Regions from separate parts of the Homo sapiens genome. Here all the other regions are linked to region 1. The links are contacts of gene promoters, found by promoter capture Hi-C in blood cells and fetal thymus (Javierre and others, 2016). All regions are on one chromosome and are shown on one strand. Each heading gives the region's core, a stretch centred on a gene start or on the middle of the fragment in contact. The rest is flanking DNA. Distances are from core to core; before and after follow the strand shown. Region 1 holds the start of LINGO4 (leucine rich repeat and Ig domain containing 4). Region 2 overlaps TUFT1 (tuftelin 1). Region 3 overlaps SNX27 (sorting nexin 27). Region 4 overlaps TUFT1 (tuftelin 1).

What was found. Contacts are between HindIII fragments. The CHiCAGO score rates a contact against its expected background, and 5 or more counts as called.
Region 2: a contact is called between a fragment that was not itself captured here and the fragment with the promoter of LINGO4 in region 1, in 5 of 17 cell types (M1 macrophages, M0 macrophages, activated CD4 T cells and 2 more). The highest score is 6.4, in M1 macrophages.
Region 3: a contact is called between a fragment that was not itself captured here and the fragment with the promoter of LINGO4 in region 1, in 1 of 17 cell types (total CD8 T cells). The highest score is 5.1, in total CD8 T cells.
Region 4: a fragment that was not itself captured here is called in contact with the fragment with the promoter of LINGO4 in region 1 in 5 of 17 cell types (activated CD4 T cells, naive CD8 T cells, naive B cells and 2 more); the score reaches 7.4 in activated CD4 T cells.

What each region holds. Positions count from the first base shown.
Region 1 is chr1:151,802,901-151,807,100 of GRCh38, forward strand. It overlaps LINGO4 (leucine rich repeat and Ig domain containing 4), which reads right to left and starts at 2,519. Exons shown (of 2, transcript NM_001004432.4): 1 at 2,330-2,519. RORC (RAR related orphan receptor C) reads right to left here. Exons shown (of 11, transcript NM_005060.4): 11 at 3,171-4,200. The HindIII fragment of the contact is 4,610 bases long and covers 104-4,200 here.
Region 2 is chr1:151,561,325-151,565,358 of GRCh38, forward strand. TUFT1 (tuftelin 1) reads left to right here. Exons shown (of 13, transcript NM_020127.3): 2 at 767-841; 3 at 1,261-1,362; 4 at 2,580-2,666; 5 at 3,201-3,290. Among named protein-coding and RNA genes, the nearest start is that of MIR554, 18 kb to the left of the region's middle. The HindIII fragment of the contact is 1,878 bases long and covers 1,366-3,243 here.
Region 3 is chr1:151,637,931-151,642,215 of GRCh38, forward strand. It overlaps SNX27 (sorting nexin 27), which reads left to right. Exons shown (of 12, transcript NM_001330723.2): 2 at 958-1,189. Among named protein-coding and RNA genes, the nearest start is that of SNX27, 28 kb to the left of the region's middle. The HindIII fragment of the contact is 1,372 bases long and covers 656-2,027 here.
Region 4 is chr1:151,578,349-151,582,965 of GRCh38, forward strand. It overlaps TUFT1 (tuftelin 1), which reads left to right. Exons shown (of 13, transcript NM_020127.3): 10 at 373-478; 11 at 1,301-1,384; 12 at 2,594-2,694; 13 at 3,296-4,617. The coding sequence ends at 3,359. Among named protein-coding and RNA genes, the nearest start is that of SNX27, 31 kb to the right of the region's middle. The HindIII fragment of the contact is 1,354 bases long and covers 2,580-3,933 here.

The DNA.
Region 1 (4,200 bases), core at 1,269-3,768:
CTTTGGGGAATCTCTGCTTTCCTCCCTCTTCCAGCCCTGGATAACCAGCCAAGTGCTTACTGGCTCATGGAACCCTAGCCAAGCCTGATTTCTGTGGGGAAAAAGCTTATGGGAATGGGGCAGGGAACAGCAGGGAGGTACTGAGTCTTTCTGTATGGGGTTTCCTGATGTCTGTGAGATCCAGGAGGATCTCAGGTCCCTTCTCCCTGATACCTGCTCTTCCCAAGCTCTGCTCTGTCCCTCTCTGCTCACGCTTATTCTTTCACATTATGTACCCATAGTTTTGCTTAAGGCTCAGGGAGATCATGTCCTTGGCCCAGAGTTCCCTGTCCTGACTGGAGAGGTCCTCACCTTGACTAGCTCACCCAAGGCTGGGAAACATGCAGGCCTCAGCTCCACCCCCATGCTGAGCCCTCTTCCAGCCTGGCCCAGGGCCTGAGCCCTGGACTAACAAGATCCAATCTCCCCAAAATGCCTGTGTGGACAACTGCCAAGCTGTACATTAGCTGTGGCATAGGATGCAGGAGGCACTTGACTGGGAAGCTGGGAATCCCCTGCAAGAGCCCAGGGGCAACTGCTTCTCTACTGCAATTGAAGTTGGGGTGTGTGAGAGACCCAAAGGATGCCCAGGTTTTGAGTTCTGTTGCTTGGTCTTCAGTCTTGGGCTTCCCTCATATCCCTCCTTAATGGTGTTTGGATTCTGGTCCAGTGTGTGGATCTGAGGGAGAGCTCTTGTCCCTTTTGGCCTGAGCTGCCTGAGAAATTCCCAAGAGACAGATTGTGGACCAGGGAGCATAGATAAGTGAGGAGAGACAGCATCTGACCAAGTGCTGTAGGATGGGGAGGAAGGGAGCCGTTGGCTGGCACAGCAGGTATCTGGGCACAGACAGTGTGCAGAGCCTGTAGACTTATAGTCAGTTTCTGGGTACCAGGTTCCGGGAACCCTCAGGAAGATGGTGACTACAATGGCTGAGGTGACAGAGGAGAAGGGGCCCTCTAGGTGATGAGGGCCCCTGACTCATCCTGTTAGATGTCAACAGGGACCCCAAGGCAGAGGAAGTACTGGAATTGGCAAGGGATGGCTACAGAGATAGGAGCAAAAGCCCATGGATGCTCTCTGGGATACAGCGCGTCTGAGTCTCTGCTGAGCGGCAATCCTGATCACCTTTGGGCTTGTGGGCTTCAGGCTCTCTGGGCTCTACAGGGTCAGCTTTCTACTACATGCCCTGTTTTTTCTCATGTGGAACTTAGGAGAGGCAGTTTAAGAGATGGTCATTTCTTCCCCTTTCCTTCCCACTCTCCACCTCCTAGAAGGATCATTCTAGTGGCTATCCTACAGCCACTTGAGAGGATTGTCCTAGTTGGGAAACTAAAGAAAGAGGCCAAAAGAGCAGAGGGATGCAGAAAACTGGTGTGAGGCTTGGGGATGAAAAAGAATAACGTGGGGCAAAGACTGCAGAGCAGACTCTTCTCGCCCCAAACTGACCTAACAGGTCTCTGTGGCATGCCCAGAGCTCTCCCGGGAAAGATGGCCCAGCCTCCCTTGTTCTCCCTAGGCTTGTTCTGGGAAGTCCACCTGACAGCTAGCTCTTCATCACTACTGCTGCAGTTCCTGCCCATCCTCGCTCTGCATTCAGCAAAAGTGCAGTGAAGCATGTAACCCAGCTTTCTTCCTTCCTGCTCCTGTGAGTTTCCCCTGAGTCCGCTGGGCCAGGGGCTGAGGGAGCTGGAGCAACCTATTTTATTTCTAAGGTGGCTAATTTAATCACAAATTTCCCTTGCCAACCTCCATGGCTGCAGGACCGGCTTCCGGCCACTTTGCAGGAAGCGAGATGTCAGAACCACTTTTTTGTCCCTTCAGTGGGGTGGGGACATCACCAAGACATGACCCTTGAAGGCATCACCCCTCAAGGGTAGGGAGCCTTTTTCTTGTCTTTATGTGGCAGTCCAGAGACACTTTTGAACCTGGGTATCCTGTATCCTCTTTAAAGCACACCTGACTGACAAATGGGAACTGTGTGGGGAGAGGGTTCCTGGGGGAAAGATTTCTGGAAGATCCACACCGATTGTGGAGAAAAACCCTTCCAGAGGAAGGGGAAGCACTGGGGAGATGGAAGGGAGGTCTCCTTGGAGCCCTTCCACCCAGGGGTACTTGGGATATTTGAGTTTCCCCCTCAAAGTCCCATGGGGCCAGGATTAATTGTTAGCAGTGTGGGGGCCCAAACCCTCTTGCCTTGAGGGGCCTGTCTGGCCCCTAGTCTGGCCTGTCTCGGAGAATGTTATGGAAAAGGGCGGCTGCATCTTTGGGACAGAGAGTGGGGGCACTTACCGGAGAAGCTGGAAGGTGGCATCAAGTTTGGCACTGCATCTGTCCAGCGCTGGGGGCCCTGTCCCATTCGAGCTGCACCTCAGGCCCCTGCACCTTCCCTGTGTGCCTCAACCCCCGCTGCCTGGCTGCCCGGCTGCTGCCTGCCGCTGCTGCTGCTGCTGTTGCTGCTGCGGCCGCTGCTGCCAAGACTGAGGTGGAGAAAAGAGCCAGAAAGCATTTCTCCTTTTTTTTTTTCCTCTCTCTCTCTCTCTCTTTTTAAACCAGGCAAGAATGAGTCTGCAGCAACCCTGTTGGTGCAAAATAAATAAATAAAGCAACCAGGGAGGGCTGCAGCAAGCACCACTACAGGCTGGCAAGTGACAGGGGAGGGAGCCAGGAGGGAGGCTCTGGTGCCAGGGAGGGGTCATGCAATAGCAAGAACAGCAGGTTCTAGAGGATCTCTCTGACATCCTGATTCCCCCACTGGGGAGCTTGGGCCAGCCACCTTCCAGAGGACTGTCTTTTGGTCTCCCAGATGTGGAGCAATTCTGTGCAACCTCTAAATCTAAACGTTCCCCGTGGGTATCATTTATGGGAAGTTCTCAGTCTAGAGCATCTCCCGTGGGGCTCAGTTTGAGGCTCCTACAGTGGGGGTTCCTGAAGATTCGTTCACAGTCCTCACTGAGGGACTGCTCCACCTGGGGAGAAACTGCAGGGGTCGGGTGAGGGTGGGTTGGATCTGTATAATGCTGATGGATTGCTGAGCTGGAAACCTGAGTCTTGACCCAGGAATGAGACTGGAGAGCAGGCATGCAGGTAATCTAATTTAAGAATCTCCCCCACCCTCTGACACACACACTTCTTGCCTTTAAAATCATTTTATAAAGAATGGCACAAGTTGGGGTTTATGTTTACTCAGATGAACCCGTCCCCTTAGAGGACACAATCCCACCCCCAACCCCCCCAACTCCACGACTGCCCATCATTGCTGTTAATCCCTCAGGGGAGGGTTCACAGCTGTTTATGAAGCCAAGAGAGGTTCTGGGCAAGATCACAGCTGGGGAAACAGGCCCAGGCCCTGCTCCCTGGTGTCCTCCATGCTGGAGTCAGCGGTGCCCAATGACGGGGTGATGTGATCACATCTGCTTCCTTCTCCACAACAAGAGCAGGGCTGGCGGGCAGGCCAGGAAAGTCCTCCAGGATCTGATCTTGCCTTCCGACTGACCAGTGCGAGCGACTTCTGCTTCTCTTGGGTCTTCTAGTGGTAGAAGACAGCTGGAGCTGGGGTGGTATTTGGATCACCCCAGACCCAAGATCAGTGGACTGGAGCACCATGGAAATGTTTGGGAGGGTCCCTCAGGATTGGGACTTTCCCCTGAGGCCTCTAGGCTCCTCCAAGCTGTGGCCTCAAGGATAAGAGAGATTGTGTCAGGTTCATGTGTCTCTGGAACTGCATGATTGCTGTTGAGTCTGTATGTGTTTCACCTGTGTATGGATATGTGTCTCTGATCAGATTTGTGCCAGCCCCTAAAGTCTATCTTTAAAGTGCACATAAGAGGTTTGAGTTTTAACTCTATGTCTGAGATGCTCTTGGCCTTCATTGTACCCTAGTCCCACACCCAAATCCCATAAAACAATTATCTCCAGCCTCTCATCCTCATCCCATCCATTTTTGGTTAGACCCCAGGTAAAGGGTAGGGTGCCCAAATACTTCCTTGCTGAGCTGGGAGGAAGGCAGAGGCAGAAAATGTAAAGCTCCAGATTCATTTTATACAGGTCCTTCTGGGCTCTCACTGCCAGTCTCTGAGCTTGATCCATCTCCCCAAGCCGAAGCCCAAAGGGAAATGCAATGAGGTATTTCAAAGGCTTATTCTTAGCTTCTGAGCTTCTGA
Region 2 (4,034 bases), core at 1,055-3,554, 240 kb before region 1:
GGGCAACATGGCAAAACCTCATGTCTACAAAAAATACAAAAATTAGATGGGCATATTGGTGCGCCTGTAGTCCCAGCTACTTGGGAGGCTGAGGTGGGTGGATCACTTAAGCCTGGGAGGTTGAGGCTGCAGTCATGCGCGCGCGCGCGCACACACACACACACACACACACACACACACACTTCTTTGACTTATGAAAGAAAACCTGCTTCATTCTTTGAAATTAGGTTGATCTCTAGATGAATACCTATTATCTTGCCTGTTTTCACTTGGATAATTTCCATGTGGCTCATAGAAATGGGAGTTTGAATTCAGGTACTTTCCTATAGTTTAGTTCAGGAAGAATATGCTAGTCTTGTAAAGTGCATCAATAACTTGCTGGCTGGTTGTCAGGAGCAGAAATTCTGGATTGAGGATGAGCAGTCCAGGAATGACCTCTCTACAACTAGAGAAAGAAGAATGCATGCAATGTGTTCCCTGTAGTCCAAGAACCAGGGTAGCCCTGCTGGAGCTCTACAGAGCCATGTGCCAGGTAATCTTTGTTGTGAAAGAAAAAACTGTTGGGTGGTCCCAGAGTCACCACCCCAAACACCTGATCTTGGGCAAGGTAATGCTGCCTCCCTGGACTTCAGTTTTCCTAGTCTGTGAAGTGGTGATGATAAGACCCGCTCCACAGAGCTGGCAGAAGCACCCCTGTACTGGTAGCAGTTTGTACCTGTAGACTGTAAAGTTGAGGGGTTATTGTTGCTGTCATTGTCATTATTAGGGCAGCGTGGACATTCTCAGGCTGACTCTCCAGGGTGAACTGACAGGAGATGAACTTGAACACATAGCCCAGAAGGTACTGCGGAATTCTGGTGGGCAAGGCCCCCTCCCCACACCAGTGCTTCCTTGCTGCTGGCCTCTTACCCAAGTACTGCCTGGAGCCGACTCTGGTGATGCGAGCGTGGGAGCCCCTCCTTTCAGCAACATCCAGCTTGCCTCAGCCTTCTGCACTGCTTTGGGGCAGGAGGAGTCCCCCACTAAAATTAAAACTAAACTGCTACTTCTGTCCATTCTCCCTGGCCGGTGTTCTTGCTGCTGTGTGGCTTCTGTTAGAAGTTCGGAAACGAATTTTTGGAGAGGAAAGTCAGACTAATCCTTCAAGTCTTTTGAGAAACAGGTCTTCTGCATTAGCTGAGGGGCAGGAGTTCTGGGCTTGCCATGTGGTGTCTGAGCCATCTCTCTCTCTCTCTCTCTCTCTCATCTCTCTTTGGCCAGGCGGGCAGGAAGACCTATGCCATGGTGTCCAGCCACTCAGCTGGTCATTCTCTGGCTTCAGAACTGGTGGAGTCCCATGATGGACATGAGGAGATCATTAAGGTAAGCTTAGTTCACCTCCAACTTTTCTCCCTGTCCTCTTCCTCCCTGCACGTATATGAGAAGGAGCAGTTGATGTTGTTGCCAAAGGGAGCTTGTGGTTTGATGGAAGGAACCAGACCTGAGCTGCTAGTTCCTGGCAATCTCCTAGAAATATCTTAATTAATACCAGGAGACTACAGTCTGCCTGTTAGCAACTTTGGTGCAGCCTGGCCCCAGGCAAGGGGATGGACTGGATGACCTTACTAGGGGCCTATCCACTGACCATGTTTTGCTGCTAGAGGTTGTGGAGACAGGTAGGAGGTGTGTTTATGGAACTTATGTTTTCCTATAATGGGTTCATCCTGATGGAACTTATTTATTTATTTATATATTTTTAGTTTTGTAGAGACAGTCTCGCCTTGTTCCCTGGGCTGGTCTCCAAATCCTGGGCTCGAGCAATCGTCCTGTCTCAGCCTCCCAAAATGCTGGTATTATAGGCGTGCACCAGCCCACCTGGCTGATGGAACTTATTTTTTAAAAAATAAAATGATTTTTGTTATTTCTCTCTCTCTTTTTTTTTATAAAACAGCTTTTTTAGATATAAATCCCATACCACATGATTGACTCAGTTACAGTTTTGGTCAGTGCATAACAAAACTGCATAACAACGTTTTGGTCAGTGATGGACTGCGTAGACAACAGTGGTCCCATAAGATTATTATACTCCATTTTTACTGTATTTTTTCTGGGTTTAGATACATTACCATTGTGTGACGATCACCTACAGTATTCAGTACAGTAACATGCTGTGCAGGTTTGTTTGTAGCCTAGGAGCAATAGGGTACACCATACAGCCTAGGGGTGTAGGAGGCCATGCCATCTAGGTTTGTGTGTGTACACTCTGTGATGTTTGTACAAGGATGAAATTGCCTAATGATGCATCCCTCAGAATGTATTCCTATGATTAAGTGATGCATGACTGTATATATGTGAGTGTTTATGCCAATACAGCTATATAGCATTGAGCTAAATTTATTGCATTAGGGTAAATTTCCAGAAGTAGAACTGATAGACCAAAAAGTAAATATATTTTTAGGTCTTCTGATCCGAATCACCAAATTCCACCCAGTAAATTGGTGGTAACAATTTACCCTCCCACCAGCACTATATGAAGCTGCCTATTTTTGTATAGTTAATTTAATTTGAGGTTTCTTAACTAAATGGTGTTCTTATTTCAGGTGTACTTGAAGGGGAGGTCTGGAGACAAGATGATTCACGAGAAGAATATTAACCAGCTGAAGAGTGAGGTCCAGTACATCCAGGAGGTGGGCACCCCTTACCTCTCACGCAGTGCCTAGGTCATTTCTCTAAATCTCACATTTTTTGTGACTGTCTTCTTTTGTGGATTCTGGTTTTTCCCCTTCTTTTTCCTTTATGTCTCTGAAATGCCACCATGCCCTCCCGTGTGTCAAATATATAACTTTTGACCATACCTGATCCATTAATCCACAAATACTTAAGTACTATGGGCCCAGCACTGTCCCAGCCACCTATCGAAAATTACCAGCCACTTTTCACAGCATTTCTTAACTCCCTTCCTGGCTCGTGTTTCTCGTTGGCACTTATGCCCATATAACATATTACACATTTTACTTATTTGTCTTTTGTGTCTTGTGTCTCCCCAACAAGAATGTCAGCTGTAGCTCCACTTGACCAAGGTCCCTCCCTCCATCCTGCAGCCAGTCGTTAGGACAGTGCCTGACTCGCAGTACAGGCCAGGGATGGGGCACAGAGTTGGGTGAGTTGGCATGCTCTCTTTCTCTACCCTAAAGCTCAAGTTTCTTCCCCTCCCCTCCCAGGCCAGGAACTGCCTACAGAAGCTCCGGGAGGATATAAGTAGCAAGCTTGACAGGAACCTAGGAGATTCTCTCCATCGACAGGAGATACAGGTAATAGGAAATGGTCCATGGTTGGGTCCCCACCGAGGAGGTGGGGTTGTGCCAGGCAGTCTCATTTACCAATTACCCAGTGTGTGCTAAATCTAGCATCCCTGCCAGGAATGGAGAAAATAGAGGTGATGCTGGCTTCTCTGGAGCACTCACAATCTGGTTAGGACTCTCCAGCCGATGAGCACTTACATTTACACATGTCAGCTTAAACATAAGTACACCTGCTCCTGAAACACTGTACAGAAATTGAACTTATATAAATTAAATATCATCAGTTGTTAGCAAACCTCTTATCTATAAGGATTCTGTGATCAAGCTTCTTATAATAATAGAATTTTGTAAAGCAGACAATCACCTGTAAATCCACACTTCTCATAAGCTGATCTTGCTTAGTTTGGGTGATACCTGTAGCGTAAATTGAAGTCCGTGCCCTAGCCTGTTATTAATCTTGTATATAGTTATGTCTAACCTGGGATGGGAAGTTCCTCAAGGTTAGGAGTTCACCCCACCCCACCCCACCTCGTGTCTGTATCCTCACCCTCCCATTCCCCCCAGGTCTGGGATGTAGAAGGCATCAGTAAATGTTTGTTAGACTGAACAGATTGGGTAAGTCTTTCCTGGGAGGGATAATCCTGGGATCCTGCTTTTCAGTTTTTCCAAAACTCGAGGACAGAAATGTCCTCAGGAGAGCAGAGCTGTCTCTTTGTGACTTCGCCCTCATCCTTTAGATTCTGAGTTGTATCC
Region 3 (4,285 bases), core at 92-2,591, 170 kb before region 1:
TCTTGGGATAGCCATGGGAGGGAACCTCCAGGCCTGCTGCCCAGTGGTTTTTGCTGAGAGAGCAGCTGGATCAGCATTCTGGAAGGTAGTTTGGTTTGCTGAGGGAGTCTTGTGAGACTCAGCATCTTTCTTGACAAAATACTTCATCTAAACCTTGTACTTTGTTTGCCTTATTTCAGCCTTTTGTACACAGCAAAACAGGAAGGAAAATTAGTAGGCTGACCATATAATTATAGGTGTATATTTTTTAGTTTGGACTGATTACACAGGACTCTAAATGAGATAGCATAGAGCAGGAAAAAAGTTGATGGAATCCCAAGAGGTTAATTGAATTGGAAACTAGTGTATGTGAAGAGTAATACCATTTAGCTCCCAAAGTAATGAAACTTGGCATAAAGGAAAATTAAGTTGACTGATTTGAGATATGGAGAGAAATTGGATGTAAATGTAAAGGAATTATCTTCAGTCATAACTTTTTTTGAGTCTCTATTTACAAATTAAGAGAATTTATTTTGTGAAGGTTCTTTTAACAGAATTCCTTTGAGGTTTAAAAAGGACAAAGTACAATTCAAGTGGCAGGGCTGTCAAAAGCCACTTTGATTGAATTGTATACATGCTTAGTTAGAATGAGGAAATTGGATTGTTTGACTGAAAAAGCTTTGTTTCCTCCTCAGCTTCAGCCTCTTTCCATGTGCGTTCCTGAAGCTATGTGTGGGATATTAGTATAGAGGAAGGGGAGGTCTTCTCACCTCTTTCCATTTTTCCCCCCGCCATAAGTTCACAAAGTTTTTCACATTAGAAACTGTTAAAACATAAACAACTTTTCTGGAACCAAATTAATCTTTTGACTTCATGGTTCATACCGTGTGACACTGGAGTTTGGGCAGGAGGGTGGAGATACAAGGTGTTTGGACCCTTCTGGTTTATGGGATTGTCTTTTTCCCTTTTTCCCCTTAGGAACCACGTGAATGTTGAGGGGGCGACACACAAGCAGGTGGTGGACCTGATTCGAGCAGGCGAGAAGGAATTGATCTTGACAGTGTTATCTGTACCTCCTCATGAGGCAGATAACCTAGATCCCAGTGACGACTCGTTGGGACAATCATTTTATGATTACACAGAAAAGCAAGCAGTGCCCATATCGGTCCCCAGATACAAACATGTGGAGCAGAATGGTGAGAAGTTTGTGGTGAGTGTCAGCCCAACTCGATCCTCGAACATCTAGCTTTGTTTCCCCTAGTCTTATAATTATGAAACTATTATAGTGGTAGATAAAAGGCTGCAACCTAGGTCAGTTTGTCTACCAGGAGGATGAGTTCACACATAAATAAAAGACACTGACCCTGATTTATTGCAGGGGGTGAATTACAGTAGTGGAAAAGAGTCCTACTCAGCTTGAGTATAATTCCATTTTATTTTTAGATAGTTTCAAGTTTGCATTCTGGTTTGTCGTAAACGTGTGAGTTTTTGTTTAGTTTCTTTTTTGTTTGTTCTTTTGTTGGTTGCCGTATCTCTTTGCTAATAGTATCTTATTTACTGTTGATTCTGTGGTGCTATAGGGCAAGATTAATGTAAAAGGATGGTGTCCTTCAAGATATTTGGGTAATAGAGAGGTTCACCCATTTCAGAACTTAGATGTCTCTACTCTTCTTTCCACATCATGTTCTTTTTCATTTTCTTTGGAGATATCCGTGTGAATGATTAACTGTGGTTTTTCCCACGAGTTTCCTGAATGCAATTCCCATGAGCTGTTTCACACATTTCTAATCTGTTGCTGTTGTAGCTATGCAGGAAAGCCCATCTTGAATTTTTAGTGATGTGTGCTAGCCCCTTTGCTGAATGCCTTTGTTCTTCAGAGCCTAATTGCCACTGATAGCTCAGTCTACTTAATTTTTCTTTTGGTTGCAATATGCTTTATTTGCCTTTAATTATTTGTGGAGTGTTGATATAATGAGAAATGTTCATTATTCTTAGTAGAAAATGCAGTGGGTTCTGTTAGATGCTGGCAAACAGACTACAGGTTTTAAAGCTTAACAGTTGACTAAAGTTACAGTCTCTAAAACTGAGATTTATCCTCTGCATAGGAACGAGCTACTAAACATTTATGGTAAATTCTTTTTAGTGAAGAGATAAGAAAAGCAAGGAAGCTAAAAGAGTTGCAGAGGATCAAATAATGCTTGGTTGCATCTGTAATTAGCTGTAGATAATGGCATATAGGTTTTATTTCAGCATGGACTTCTGTAGTCTTAGAACCACACACAGAATTTAGAGTTTTATGCTTCCTAAGTGCTAACTTTGAGTCATAAGGCATGTAAGAAGTTGAAATCAAGGTCACATCCTAAAAGTAGAGCAGTCTGGATGTTGAGACCTTTTGGGAATTACCTAAAACCTTGGAAACCTGAGAAAAGGAATAATACTACCAATTGTACCTTTGTTTATTTTTATTTTTATTATATATATTTTTTAAGACGAAGTCTCACTCTGTCCCCCAGCCTGGGGTACAGTGGTGTGATCTTGGCTCACTGCAATCTCTGCCTCCCGGGTTCAAACAATTCTGCCTCAGCCTCCCAAGTAGCTGGGATTACAGGTGCGCACCACCATGCCCTGCTAAGTTTTGTATTTTTAGTAGAGATGGTGTTTCACCATGTTGGCCAGGCTAGTCTCGAACTCCTGACCTCAGGTAATCCACCTGCCTCAGCCTCCCAAAGTGCTGGGATTACAGGTATGAGACACTGCGCCCAGCCCACTAATTGTACTTTTCAAATCAACTTTATTGAACATAGTTTACCTATATTAACATTCACTCATGTTAAGTCTCCACTTTTACAAGTTTTGACAAATGTACATAGTCTTATAACCACCACCACCACCATGAAGATTTAGAATATTTTCATACCCTCAAAAGTTCCCTCATGCCCTTTACAGTTAGTCCTCACCCCTTACCACTGCCCTTGTCAACCACGGATCAGCTTACTGTCACCATATTTTACATTTTCCAGAATGTCAAATAAGTAGAATCATACCATTTGTACTCTCTTGTATCTGGCTTTGTTCAGTTAGTATAGTGCTTAAGATTGGCAGACATTGTTATTTAAACCAAATATTTGTCCCTTTTTAATTGCTGAGTAGTAGTCCATTGTATAGATTTACTACAGTTTGTTCATCCTTTCATTGTTCATGCACATGTGGGTTGTTTGCAGTTTTGGACTAGTATGACTAAAGCTGCCATGAAATAATATTAAATGTACAGGTCTTTATGTAGACATATGTTTTCATTGCTCTTGAGTATATACCAAGAAGTGGAATTGCAGGGTAAGTGTAAGTTTAACTTTATAAAAAACTGCCAAACAGTTTTCCAAAGTGGCTATATCATTTTTACATTATCATATGCAGTGGAGAGTTCCAGTGGTTCCATAACCTCTTGATATTTTCAGTCTTTTTAATTCTAGCCATTCTCATGGACATAGTGATACCTTACTGTGGTTTTAATTTGCATTTACCTAATGACTCATGATGATGAGCTGCTTTTTGTGTGCTTAATGGGCATTCATGTGTCTTCATTGATGAAGTAGCTGTTTAACTCTTTTGCCCGTTTAAAAAATTGGGTTGTCTTATTATTTTATTGTAGGGGTTCTTTATACATTCTGGTTCTACAAGTCCTTTATCAGATATATATATATATATATATATATATATATATCATATGTATCATATATATATCATATGTATCAGATATATATATCATATATATCTGATATATATATCATATATATGATATATATAGCATATGATATATATCAGATAGATATATCAGATACATATATATCATATATATGCTATATATATCTGATATATATGAGATATATAAGATATAGATATATATGAGATATATATGTCAGCTATAGATATATATGAGATATATATATCAGCTATAGATATATATGATATATATATCAGCTATAGATATATATGAGATATATATATCAGCTATAGATATATATGAGATATATATATCAGCTATAGATATATATGAGATATATATATATCAGATATAGATATATATGAGATATATATATCAGATATAGATATATATGAGATATATATATATCAGATATATATGATATATTTTCCAGTAGCTTGAAAAAGGACTTAGATAAGCCAGGCGCAGTGGTTCATGCCTGTAATCCCAGCACTTTGGGAAGCTGAGGTGGGCAGATCACCTGAGGTCGGTGGATCACTTGAGGTCAGGAGCTCGAGACCAGGCTGGCCAATATGGTGAAACCCC
Region 4 (4,617 bases), core at 2,007-4,506, 220 kb before region 1:
ACCCAGGCTGGAGTGCAGTGGCGCCATCTTGGCTCACTGCCACCTCTGCCTCCTGGGTTCAAGCGATTCTTGTGCCTCAGCCTCCTGAGTAGCTGGGACTACAGGCACACGCCACCACACTTGGCTAATTTTAGTATTCTTAGTAGAGGTGGGGTTTCACTATGTTGGCCAGGCTGGTCTTGAACTCCTGACCTCAGTGCTTCCAATGTGATATTCTAAGGTACCCACCACCTACTCTTCAGAGCAGCCTACCAGGGAATCAGGCAAAGGGAATCATATTAATGGGAACCTCCCAAGCTCAAGGCTCTTCCTGTGACTGGGTAAATAAGTGATCTTGTTCCATTGCCTCAGCCTTCTGGTCTTTATCCCCAGGGCTGCTACCCTGGAAAAGGAAGTGGCCGGGTTGCGGGAGAAGATCCACCACTTGGATGACATGCTCAAGAGCCAGCAGCGGAAAGTCCGGCAAATGATAGAGCAGGTAAGTTGGGCTGGTTTGTAACCTGCCCTCGGGGAGTCACCCCAAGTCTATGCTCTTATTTGTTTCCTAGGGAGCTTGACTTATATTCATGCATTTCCCATGTCAAACATTTATAGCTACCAATTACCAGGTTCAGGTTATTAGGATTTGCTTTTCTCCCATCTTTCCCCTACTGTTTTGTTTGTTTGTTTGCCATTTGGCCTCTGCTTTCCAATAGGAAAGGAAGGAAAAGGTTAATTTGTCATATACTCTGTGAAGAGTGTGGGTAAATGAGTAGTTGAGTCATAATAAACTCTGTTATCTGTGCAGATTATCAGTCTTTGAGCCTCATGGCTGCTTTCCTGCCTTACCCCACCTGAGCTTGAGGGTAGCATACTTAGGATTTGTCTATTTGCAGAATTGTTTTGAGAGCCTAAGGCCCCATAACTGGGAGGCTGTATGTGCTTCATGTCAGCTCCATTAGTGTCTGTTTTATTTAGTGCTGTTTTCCATTATCTCGAACAGAGTCAGTCATATAGTAAGTACTCAATAAATATGTCTTGAATGAAAAAATAATTTGTATTTTCCAAAGCCATATGGAATGGGTTTTGTCATTCATTATTTTGGATTCTCAGGGTGGTATTCCCCTCACACACTCCTCACTCCCACCCCTGGGATAATCAAGAGTCTAATATTGACTGAAAGGAGGCCTTTGTAGAAAAGCTAATGAAGTCATATGGAGTTGCAGGGCTCTGCTGCCTTCCCCAGCAGCTGGGGTGAAGTCTGGTGAGTGTGTAATGAGTCATTGCAAAATGAGCTCCAGTGTCTCCCACACCTTTGCAGCTCCAGAATTCAAAAGCTGTGATCCAGTCAAAGGACGCCACCATCCAGGAGCTCAAGGAGAAAATCGCCTATCTGGAGGCAGAGGTGTGTGTGCTGGGCAGCCCAGCAGGGGAACAGGACTCTTGAAGAGAAGGTGGACATAAGGGAGACAGAGGTTATGGGAGGGGTCTTTGTCATGTCTTGCTGTTGCTCTGAAGTGAATACCTAGGGTGGTTGGTTGACTTTCAGTTCAGCTGAATAAACATTTTCTGAGAACCTTCAGGAAGCTGCTAACAATGATGAGATGACCACCCCCCTGGCCCCACCTTCAACGGACATGTCATCATGGTGCAAGCCACATGCCATGGCTGCACACGGCTAATTCTGACCCTCCAGGCTTTGCAAAGGAGCTGGCAGTGGTGCTGGGCTGTGAAGGAGGAGGAGGCATTCATACAGATGGAGCCTTTTCCAGGGCTAGATTACGTAACGAGTTGCCTTCCTAGTCTAATTTCCACTTTGCCACAGGGCCCTACCTGTCTGTTGACTACCTGAAGATCACTTTGCGAACGCTCTGTGAAGATCCCCTGTAGTGAGGGAGAAAAATGGGAGAAAGGGTTATCTTTAGAGAGTTTGCAGTCTATAGTCAGAGATAAAATGTGTATTTTTAAAAAGACCAAAGAATGCTTTATAGAATAGCGTATCAACAAAGGCAAGTGAGTATCTCAACTGAGGACAAAAAATTATATATAGGGGCCAGGTGCAGTGGCTCATGCCTGTAATCCCAGCACTTAGGGAGGTTGAGGCGGTAGGATTGCTCGAGGCCAGGAGTTCAAGACCTAGGCAACATAGTGAGACTTTGTCTCTGAAAAAGAAAAAATTTTTTTAATTAACCAGATGTGGTGGCATGCATCTGTAGTCCAGTTACTTGGGAGACTTAAAGGAGAGGATCACTTGAACCCAGGAGGTCGAGGCTGCAGTGAGCTATAATCACGCCACTGCACTCCAGCCTGGGCAACAGAGTGAGACCCTATCTCAAAAAAAAAAAAAAAAAAAAAAGAACTGTATGTAGAGGACATATAGGAAACCATCAGTCTGTCAGTGTTGTACAGAGTTATGGAGGAGCAGGTATTGGAGGATAAGCGCAATCTATGGTAATGAAGATGAGGCAAGTGGGTATCCAGGTGGTGGCACGCATGGTGGGGGTAGAGGCAACAGCAGCATAAACACAGGCAGAGAGACCAGAATGCACTAGCTGAACGTGGCACCCGGGAAGCCAGAAAAAGGCCAACTCTAACCCCTAAGCTTGTGTTACAGAATTTAGAGATGCATGACCGGATGGAACACCTGATAGAAAAACAAATCAGTCATGGCAACTTCAGCACCCAGGCCCGGGCCAAGACAGAGAACCCGGGCAGGTGAGTGAGCGTGTGTAGATAGAATGGGGCCAGGGAGGAGGGGAGAAGGAGGGACAGAGCTCTGTAGAACCTTTAGTGCTAAGGCAAGAACAAGGCTCCTTTAAATCCAACTTTCCTCCCTCAGTCTGACCCACTGTTTGCCGGAACCATTTTCTAGCCCAATTAGAGTAGAACCTGTTAACACAAGCCCAGGGAGGTCCATGAATGGCTTCTAGAGATGTATGAACCACCTGAAATGGTAGGAAAAATTTAGTTATAATGTTTGCATATTTCTAGGGAGAGGGTATTTTGCCTCTAAGAGATTCAGAAAAGGACCCATGATCTTGACAAAATCGAGAATCACAGCTATATCCACTTCTCAGTTGTTTAACTGCCCCTCTCTTTTCTTCACCCTTGCTACAAGACACATGTATCATGCCCCAAATCTTCCCCTAGTTGTCACTGATAATTACTGTTTTAAAGCACTTGGAACCCAAGTGATCAGCCAGCACTGCAGTGTAAGATTCCAGAGGCCAATGTGAAGATTCCAGGGGCTCTGTGAAGGGTGGGCCACAACACAGCTGTTCCCAGCACAACTCAGTGTTTCCAACCTTCTTTTCAGTATTAGGATATCCAAGCCGCCTAGCCCGAAGCCCATGCCTGTCATCCGAGTGGTGGAAACCTGAGCTGCCTGGAGATGGTTGCTGCCATTGCTGCTGCCTCTGCCTCGGAGAAGCCCACTGCCCCTGTTGGCTGTTAACACTGCCTTTGACTTCCTGACTGTCCCCTGGCTGCACCCAGGACTTCGGGCTCCTGTGTCTCACCATTCCCAAGCCCCTGGCCACTCTAAGCTGGGCAGACGGAGCACGAGCACCTATTCAAGGCACTGCAGCCCTTTGGAAGACATTGTCCTGCAAGCAGGAGCCAGGGCAATATCTATATTCCTACAGTGACTATTTTTCTCTGTAGAGAGCCTCCCTTCTGTTGTAGACTGGACTCTGGCTGTGCCATAAGCCAGGCCTTCATCAGATTGGGAGAGGTGACAAGATTTGCCTCAGCCCTAAAAGCTGGAGACACAGATGTCCAGAGTGATTGGAGAATGTCCTGGGGGAATGAAGTTCCTTCCACAAACACAGCTCAGTTCTTAGCAACAAACTGTTTGTTTTTCTACTTGCTCCATCTGCAGCCTACGCTGCCCTGGCCTCCTGCAGACAGATAGTGGGGTTACCTGGCAAGGCCTGGTGAGAGCCAGTGAACCTAAGCTTTGACTGGGTGGCCTTGTCTTTCTGGGGAGGAGGGAATGTACATTCAGGGAGTAGCCTTTTGCGGAAAAATTCTCTAGGGCTACAGACAGTCATGTGTGACTTCTCTCTGCTGTGAAAACTCCCAGAGTCTCTTTAGGGATTTTCCCTAAGGTGTACCACCAGGCACACCTCAGTCTTCTTGACCCAGAGCCTGAAAACTGTTTTCACTGGGTTCCACCAGTCCCAGCAAAATCCTCTTTGTATTTATTTTGCTAAGTTATTGGTGGTTTTGCTTACATCTCATGATTGATATAATACCAAAGTTCTATAGCCTTCTCTTGCAGTATTTGGATTTGCTTGAAACCGGGAAAACTGTTCCCATTAGGCTTGTTAATGTCAGAGTGACACTATTATGAATCTTTCTCTCCCTTTCCTCTGCCTGTTTCTTCTCTCTTTCTCCTTCAAACTTGCTCTGCAGCTAAGGAAGGTGAGTCTACTTTCCCTGAGGCTTTGGGGTCAGAGTATATGTTGTTTGGAGAAAGAGGGCAATCAGGACTCTTCTGGGACCCAGATGAGTTCTTCACTAGCCCTTCTGAACCCCTTGCTCCATAATTGGTCTTTTATCCTGGCTCTGAATGACCCTGCAGGTCATCATGGTTTTCTTTTTTTATTGTTTTTTTTTTTTTCTGAGACAGAGTCT